2 separate regions of the Homo sapiens genome follow, and region 2 is linked to region 1. Evidence: promoter capture Hi-C in 16 types of primary human blood cells and fetal thymus (Javierre and others, 2016). All regions are on one chromosome and are shown on one strand. Each heading gives the region's core, a stretch centred on a gene start or on the middle of the fragment in contact. The rest is flanking DNA. Distances are from core to core; before and after follow the strand shown.

The links. The method cuts DNA at HindIII sites, captures the fragments that hold promoters and counts their contacts. A CHiCAGO score of 5 or more calls a contact.
Region 2: a fragment that was not itself captured here is called in contact with the fragment with the promoter of CLEC18B in region 1 in 1 of 17 cell types (endothelial precursors); the score reaches 6.6 in endothelial precursors.

What each region holds. Positions count from the first base shown.
Region 1 is chr16:74,419,495-74,423,669 of GRCh38, forward strand. CLEC18B (C-type lectin domain family 18 member B) reads right to left here and starts at 1,984. Exons shown (of 12, transcript NM_001385193.1): 1 at 1,653-1,984; 2 at 1,007-1,098. The coding sequence starts at 1,776. LOC107984827 (a long non-coding RNA gene) reads left to right here and starts at 2,626. Exons shown (of 3, transcript XR_001752253.3): 1 at 2,626-2,948. The HindIII fragment of the contact is 28,054 bases long and covers 1-4,175 here.
Region 2 is chr16:74,631,504-74,636,035 of GRCh38, forward strand. RFWD3 (ring finger and WD repeat domain 3) reads right to left here. Exons shown (of 13, transcript NM_018124.4): 9 at 1,020-1,170. Among named protein-coding and RNA genes, the nearest start is that of GLG1, 27 kb to the left of the region's middle. The HindIII fragment of the contact is 4,083 bases long and covers 269-4,351 here.

The DNA of each region.
Region 1 (4,175 bases), core at 734-3,233:
CCTTTATGGAAATGAAGTTTTCTAAGACTTTGACAAAAGGGCCCTGGAAAGGGTGCCAGCTGCCAGCCAACGACCACCGCAGCCCCTCCTGGGGTCCCAGGCAGGAGTACCCAACCACGGAGGTCACAGCTGGGAGCACCCCTGGTTGCCCAGGGTCTGAGCCTGAGGAGAGGCAGAGCCACTCAGGGCTGGGAATGGGGGAGAAGCGACCCCCCGCATTTAGCCACCCCACCCCCACCTCCTGGGAAACTGACCCTAGAGTGTTCAAGGTCGCCACTGTGGCCACCTGCCTTGGAGGAGTTCATGGGAAGCAGCCATGGGGAACCCTCCCGCCCCCACCACCCTGCCCTGGCTCCCTGGCCTGCTAACATGGGCTGGGGCTGCTGGGGTCCCAGACAATGGAGGGCAGCGTTTCTGAGCCTCCAGATGACAGTCCCAACCCCGCAGCCCCAGCCGGGCTGGTGGGGAACTCTATACCCCCGACCCCTGGCCCCTGCTGAAAATGTGGAAAATGTGGACGAGTGAGTGAGCAGAGAACATGGGCAAGGCCCGTCCTAGTGGCTCAGATAAGCTCAGGAGGAGGCGCTGGGTCCTTGCCGCACAGAAGCCCCTCCCCAGCCCAGCACGACCTTCTCCCTCCCTGGCCCGGCCGCCCATCCTGCAGGGCTCCTCGTGAAGCTCCCCTTCCCTGGAGGAGGGGATCCGGCTCCTCCTGTGGCTCCTGGTCTCTGTGGCAACAAGATGCCAGGGAAGGCCCAAGGTCCTGCCCTTCAGGCGAGTGGGAGCCAAGGGGCCCGACCTCCTGAACTGAGGGTGGGGGGTTAAGAAACTGCAGAGACCCCCAGCAACCAGGGCCTCCGTCCCTCAGGGGCAAGGTGGCTGGCTGTGCCTGCCCACCCTGGTCAAGTGGAAGGGCACCTGGACAGGCGTGGCCTCCTGAGCCGCCCTCTGGGGTCCGCGCCTCCGGCCACCCCCCTGGCAGAGCCCAGCTGGGTCGGGTACTCACCAGCCTCCGCATGTCAGCCGCAGGGGGCTGGACCCAGCTGCGCAGGCGGTTGTGCAGGGAGAGGAGCAAGAAACTCTCCTTCCTGTTCAGGGCTGGGGTGGGGAGAGAAGGTCAGGCAGCCCGAGGATGGGGGGACCTGAACCCAACACACGGCAGAATAAGCATGTGTCCCTGCCCTTGGAAAACAAGATGGGAGAGGAGTGTGGTGGGTGCAGGGGACGTGGGGCATAGCAATGGAGCGAGGCTGAGAGAGAGACCAGGTACAGCAGGCGTGGGCTGAGTGCTGGGGTTGGGGTGGCGGGAGGGAACAGCGGTGCGGGCTGGGTGTAGGGGCCAGCCCTGGCTCCCGCAGGCCCCTGTCTGGGGCTCCTCCGGGCCACGGATTTCTCCAGGCCCCAGCCACAGCGCTCCTCGGCGTTCCTCCTTGACCCCAGCCCTGGTCCTCCTTCCTCCTCCTTCCTCCTCCTTCCTCCCCAGTCCAGCATCCACCCCTCACCGCCCCCGGGCTGTCCCAGGGCTTCCTCATTAAACCACCCGCACGGCCTGGGGCTCAGGCCTGGGACCGGGCTTCCAGAAGTCTCCTAGCACCCACTCCTCAGAGCTCATAATGGTGCCTCCACCTACCTCCTCACCAGGTGTCCCTTACCTCCGGCCATCGGAGCCTGCTCCTGCAGCTGGGGTGGCCACACCTCTGCCCAGGTGGTGCCAAGGAGGGCCAGGAGCACAGCCAGGAGATGCCCCCGGCCAGGGGAGGTCTCTGGATGCAGCATGGGTCTGTTGGGCCCGTCAGGCGCTCCGTGCACAGCCTGGCTCAGCCACCCGGCTTGTTTCTCAGGCTGGATGGAGCTATTCACAATCTCCAGGAGTCAGGCTGGGCTGGTGGACAAAAGAGGGGGGCTGGTGAACAAAAGAAGGAGGCTGGTGAGTGAGTAATCAGTGTGTCCAGACAGCCTCCTGTTGGCGCTGGCATGAAAAGAGACAACTCCCGGGGATGCCTGCCTGCTCCGGCCTCGGCCTGGCCAGCCCGCCCCCGACAGCAGGCAGAGTGGCGTGCACTGCCCCGCGGCCCCTGCTAATCATTGTGGGATTATTAGCACCCTTGGGGAGCCCCCAGAGACCCCGCTGATTGGCCTGGGGACATTCCGGTGCTGCAGATTAGTGACCGATGGCCGTGTCCTGGCTGGGACAGTGTCCTCCGAGCCCACTGATGGCTTCCGCTCCCCAGCCCCGGGCCCTGGGAGGAGGACCTCGGCTATGGTCCTTCTGGTGAGCAGGAACTGGGCAAGACCCCAGGGGAGTTCTTTCCTTTCTTGGGAAGCTCGTCCCAACCCCCCAGCCATGAATTAAACATAGGCAAGAGGTAACCGCACACCAGAGGGGTGCAATCTGTGGGCTCAAAGGGGGGTGGGCTGAGGCCGCACCTGCACGAGGAAAAGGGTGCCTTAGGAAAGTCTGTCTGGGCAGGGTCGGGGGCTGGGCCCAGCCCCGGTGCCCACCACCCTCACCCACGTGACTACAGGCCAGGGGGGGAGTGAGGCAGGAGGAGTCAAAGCAGGCGGGGACCAGAGCACGTGATGCCCTGGGCTGACTCCAGTCCTGCTGGGATCACGTCCGCCTCTAGAAAAACAGGCGGCGTAGCAGGTGGGCAGCACGTTGCCATGATGTGCCGTGGCCCGGCCGTGGCTGGCGTGATCCCACCAGAGTGAGCTGGAGCAGATCTGCACCATGGGCCAAGTTTCTCAGAAAATACATGGCTTCCTGCGGGCTGCAGCCTAATGCCCACGTTCCTCTCGGGGCAGACCGAAGGTTATTCAACCAGGGCAAAGGACAGCCTTGCAAACCAACTACGTCCTCCTTCTGGAGTTTGTGTGACCCCTGGCCCCTGAGCCCACACCCTCTCGGAGCGGGGTTCCAACTCCGTGGAAGCTCTGCTGAGATGCAGGTAGGGTTGGCTTTCCTGGGGAAACACCAGTGGAATGTGGCTATCGTCATGGGTGCCAGGGATGGGGATGAGGCCAGGCATACAGGCCATGAAGGCGGTCTGGAACTGCATGTCCCCCACAATACCTAGGGGCTCAGGAGTTTCTTCTCCCTCAAACAGAAACCCAGCACCCTCAGGGTCACTGCGTGTGGGTCCTAGCAATGCTTAATAGCTACCTGTTTTTTGATGTATTTTTATTTTTATTTTTTAGACAGTTTCATTCTGCCACTCAGGTTGGAGTGTTATAATCTCAGCTCACTGCAGCCTTGACCTCTTGGGCCCAAGTGATCCTTCCACCTCAGCCTCCCAAGTAGCTGGGACCAGGTGTGTGCCACCATGCCTGGCTAATTATTATTATTTTTTTTGGTAGAGACAGGATTTCATCGTCTTGCCCAGGCTGGTCTCCAACTCCTGGGCTCAAGGGATCTTCCCACCTTGGCCTCCCAAAGTGCTGGGGTTGCAGGCATGAGCCACCACACCTGGCCGAGCCACCTGTGTTTATGGAGCTCACAAAGCCTGTTTGCATGTGTGAGTTCAAGTTATTGCCACAAGAACCTGGTGCAGTAGCAGATGGGATGCCCGTCGTGTAGATGAGGAAACGGGCTTAGTGTGTCTAAGGGGCTTGTCCAAGGTCACTCAGCGAGTGCATGGAGCATCCCAGCTAATCCAAGGTCTCTGCCTTCCCATTCCCAACGCTTTAATTCACATCCTGATCTTTCCCAGTGCAGTTTCCACAGCTCTGCTATGCCGGGTGATAAAAGACCCACTTCCTACAATTGGGCTTCCATGGCAAACACGGCCAGTTGACCCATATAGTATGATGCCAGGCACTTGGGACAGGCGGGAGAAAAAGATATTTTGGGGATTAGGGTGGAGCAACTTTTGAAGGGTCCCATGGCCCTGGCTCACTGCAAGAAGAGTCCCAGGCCGGGTGTGATGGCTCATGCCTGTAATCCCAGAACTCTGGGAGGCCAAGGCAGGCGGATCACTTGAGGTCAGGAGCTTGAGACCAGCCTGGCCAACATGGTGAAATCCTGTCTCTACTAAAAATACAAAAATTAGCTGGGCAGGGTGGTGGGTGCCTGTAGTCCCAGCTACTCGGTAGGCTGAGGCAGGAGAATTGCTTGAATCTGGGAGGCGGAGGTTGCAGTGAAGCAAGATGGCACCATTGCACTCCATCCTGGGCAA
Region 2 (4,532 bases), core at 1,060-3,559, 210 kb after region 1:
CAACACTCTGGTATGTAACATTTTTCTACCTTATTTTTAAAACAATACTTATAAAGGCACGGAGCACACTCACATCTGGTTCACAGTACTCACAGAGCATGTGACAGATAAAACGCTGTGACTAAGGGTATAAAAGAAGTCATCATGGTACTCAAGGGCAGTGAGTGCTTGGTGAACATCTCTGTTACACAGAATTATCCAGGTAACAGACCAGGACCAGGAGTAAACAGTACCAACCTGGTATGGCGACTCTGATGTCAGGCACCAAAGCTTCCTCCATCCTGTCATTCCACAAACTTTAAAGACGGGGTTTCACCATGTTGGCCAGGCTGGTCTCAAACCCCTGACCTCAGCTGATTGCCTGCCTCGGCCTCACAAAGCGCTAGGATTACAGGCGTGAGCCACCACGCCTGGTCTCCACCAACTTTAGAGTTTTATTCTCATCTCCTTAAAATATACTTAAGACATATTTTGTAATATACATAGTTTCAAAGAAACAGGAAACATACAGTTTTGTAACCTTCTGTGCCCACTTCTAAAAGCAATATATTTTAAATGGATCTCAGAAGACACAGTCTCAGACCAAAAAAAACAGAGCTAAGGTCGGCTGGGCGCAGTGGCTCACGCCTGTAATCCCAGCACTTCAGGAGGCCGAGGCGGGCGGATCATGAGGTCAGGAGATTGAGCCCATCCTGGCTAACACAGTGAAACCCCGTCTCTACTACAAAAATAGAAAATATTAGCCAGGCATGGTTGCAGGCGCCTGTAGTCCTAGCTACTCGGGAGGCTGAGGCAGGAGAATGGCCTGAACCCGGAAGGTGGAGCTTGCAGTGAGCCGAGATCCCACCAGTGCACTCCAGCCTGGGTGACAGAGCGAGACTCCATCTCAAAAAAACAAAACAAAACAAAACAACAACAACAACAAAAAACAGAGCTAAGGTCATCATAACACCGATACGAATTCCATGCTACTCAACACCAAAGAGCCCAGTCTCCACCTACTTCCCCAAATCACTCACCTGGTCAGTTTAATAGTGTTGTCTAGGGAAGCAGAGAGTAGCAAGCCTCTGAGGTAACTGCTAAACGCCAGTCCACGGATCTGTTTGCCATGCATCGGAATGTACTGACTGCTCTTCATGTTGGCAGTACTCAACATCTTAACACCAAAGCCTGAAAAAGGCAAAATAGTATGAAATAGATCACTGAAAGTGAACCTAGGGCAATTCAAACTAGTTTTTCAAGTAGCTCCTTCGTCCACCTTTCTTGGCGTATAAGTCCTTGGGAACCAGCTGGTCAAACAAAAATTCTCTAGTGTTACAATTTATTCATTTATTTTTGAGAGTTGGCCAGGCTGGAATGCAGTGGCGTAACCTCAGCTCACTACAACTTCTGCCTCCCGGTGATCTGCTCGCCTCAGCCTCCCAAAGTGCTGGGATTACAGGCATGAGCCACCACACCTGGCCTATGATTCATTTAAAAAAGTACAACCCAGGCCAGGCATGGTGTCTCACCTCTGTAATCCCAGCACTTTGGGAGGCCGAGACAGGTGGATTACCTGAGGTCAGGAGTTCAAGACAAGCCTGGCCAACACAGTGAAACCCTGTCTCTACTAAAACACAAAAAATTAGCCAGGCGTGGTGGCAAGTTCCTGTAATCCCAGCTATTCAGGAGGCTGAGGCAGGAGAATCGCTTGAACCCAGGAGGCGGAGGTTGTAGTGAGACAAGATTGCACCACTACACTCCAGCGTGGGCAACCAGAGCAAAACTCCGTCTCAGAAAAAAAAAAAAAAGAAAAGAAAAAAAAGTACAACCCATGCTTGCTTCATGACAATGAAGAGAAGAAGAAAAAAAAAAAGAAAAAGTATAACCTACTCCAAACATCCAGGTAAATGGATAAACAAACCTACTGTATAAACATGTGATGGAATACCACCCGTTAAAAAGGAATTAACTACTAATATATACAATAAAAAATTATGCAGCGAGAAAGAAGTCAGACCAAAAAATGGTAACACTATATAATTCCATTTATGTAAAATTCTAGAAAATGCAAACTCATCTGTAGTGACAAAAAGCAGTGACTGCTGGGGATGGGAGAGGAGGGAGGGGCAGGTGAGATTATCAAAGGCCATAGGGAAACTTTTGCGGTAATACATATGTTCATGGCCAAGCATGGTAGCTCGCGCCTGTAATCCCAGCACTTTGGGAGGCTGAGGTGGGTGGCTCGCTTGAGATCATGAGTTCGAGACCAGCCTGGGCAATATGGTGAAACCCTGTTGCTACAAAAAATATGAGAATTAGCTGGGCGTAGTGGGGCGAGCCTGTAGTCCCAGTTACTCAAGAGGCTGAGGTGGAAGGATGACTTGAGCCCAGGAGGCGGAGGTTGTAATGAGCTGAGATCACACCCCTCCCTGCATTCCAGCCCGGGAGATCACACCCCTCCCTGCATCCAGCCTGGAAGACAGAACTAGATCTTCTGTCAAAAAAAAAAAAAATTAAAGTTATCTTGATTGTAGTCATGGTTTCAGGGGTGTATTACATATGTTAAAAGTCATCAAATTGTATACTTTAAATATGTAGTTTACTCTCTGTCAATTCTACTTCAATAAAGCTGTTGAGAGACAGAATATTTCACCAGAACCACAGACACTCCAGATGCAGAAGGAATAGTGAACAATAGAGAATGAAAATAAATAATTTGTCAGTCAAGATATGTCACATCTGTCTGAAATGAAATGAAACAGATGACATTTCAAGTACCCACATTACTGAAGTGGGGGGAAAATAACCAACAAAAACCAATAACCTTTTAAAACTTCTTGTTACTCTGTTCTCTTACTAGGCTATGATAACATTTATTTTTTACTAAGTACTTTATATATATATATATATATATTTTGAGACAAGGCCTCACTCTGTCACCCATGCTAAGGTGCAGTGGCACCATCATGGCTCACAATAGCCTCGATCTCCTAGGCTCAAGCGATCCTCCCAACTCAGCCTCCCAAGTAGCTGGGACCAGAGAGGTGTGCCACCACACCAAGCTAGTTAAGAAAAATTTTTTTTATAGCGATGGAGTCTCACTATGTTGCCCAGACTGGTCTCATACTCCTGGGCCCAAACGATCCTCCCGCCTTGGCCTCCCAAAGTGCTGGGATTACAGTCATGAGCCACTGTGCCCACTTGAGTTAAATTCTTTAAAAATACGTCAAATCCTAGATTCAAGATAGCTTCAGCTTCTCCAGGGAACCAAGCACGTGGCTTACTGTACTTTCTTCTAGCAGAATTAAGACAGCCAGAGAGGAAAAAAAAAGGGGGGAAGGGGGGCGCAGGTATAGGCTTTAAATCAACAAGGTGGCCAGGCATGGTGGCTCATGCCTGTAATCCCAGTACTTTCGGAGGCTGAGATGGGTGAATCACCTGAGGTCAGGAGTTGGAGACCAGCCTGACCAAAATGTTAAAACCCCATTTCAAATACAAAAATTAACTAGGCATAGCCGGGCGCGGTGGCTCACGCCTGTAATCCCAGCACTTTGGGAGGCCGAGGCGGGCGGATCATGAGGTCAGGAGATTGAGACCATCCTGGCTAACACGGTGAAACTCCGTCTCTTCTAAAAATACAAAAAATTAGCTGGGTGTGGTGGCGGGCGCCTGTAGTCCCAGCTACTCAGGAGGCTGAGGCAGAATGGCATGAACCCGAGAGGTGGAGCTTGCAGTGAGCCGAGATAGAGACAGCGCCACTGCAGTCCGGCCTAGGCGAAAGAGCGAGACTCCATCTCAAAAAAATAAAAAAAATAAAAAATAAAAAAAAAAATTAACTAGGCATGGTGGCATGCACCCGTAGTCTCAACTACTTGGGAGGCTGAGGCAGGAGAATCTCTTGAATCCAGGAGGCAGAGGTTGCAGTGAGCTGAGATCAGGCCACTGCACTCCAGCCTGCGCAAAAGAGTGAGACTCCATCTCAAAAGAAAAAAAAAAAATCAACAAGGTAACAGAAATACACACCGAGTTAATCATTAAGGGGAACAAGGACAAATCAACACCAGCACACTATCAAGCGGACTGGAATGGACACGTTAAGAAAAAAAGAACAGAACACATTCCCAATTTGGGGAACATTAGGAAATAGCTATTTTTCCAATTTGTTGGTTTTATTTGATGATAAATCTTTTTATTAAAAACTTAGATGGGATAAAGGAACATTATATAACCATGCTAAAGCAAAGGGGTCTTGCAGTTGGCAGAAATCTTATGCTAAAGACAGCAGAAAGAAACATCTGCAAGATTTAGAAATGATTTAATTGAGCATTTGAAAAGACTTGGTTTTCAACATTTAGAAAACCTAAAATTAAGCTTAAAAACACAAAACATGTTGAGAGAAAATTAACCTAGTATTAATAAAATAATCAATTTACTCCCTAAATTCTCTTATTTGGAAATTGTTAACTTGAACACTATTGTAAGTAAATATTAAATTTTGTTTCACCTTGAATTAACCCTTAGGGCTGTGTTTTGTCAAACATTTCCAGTCT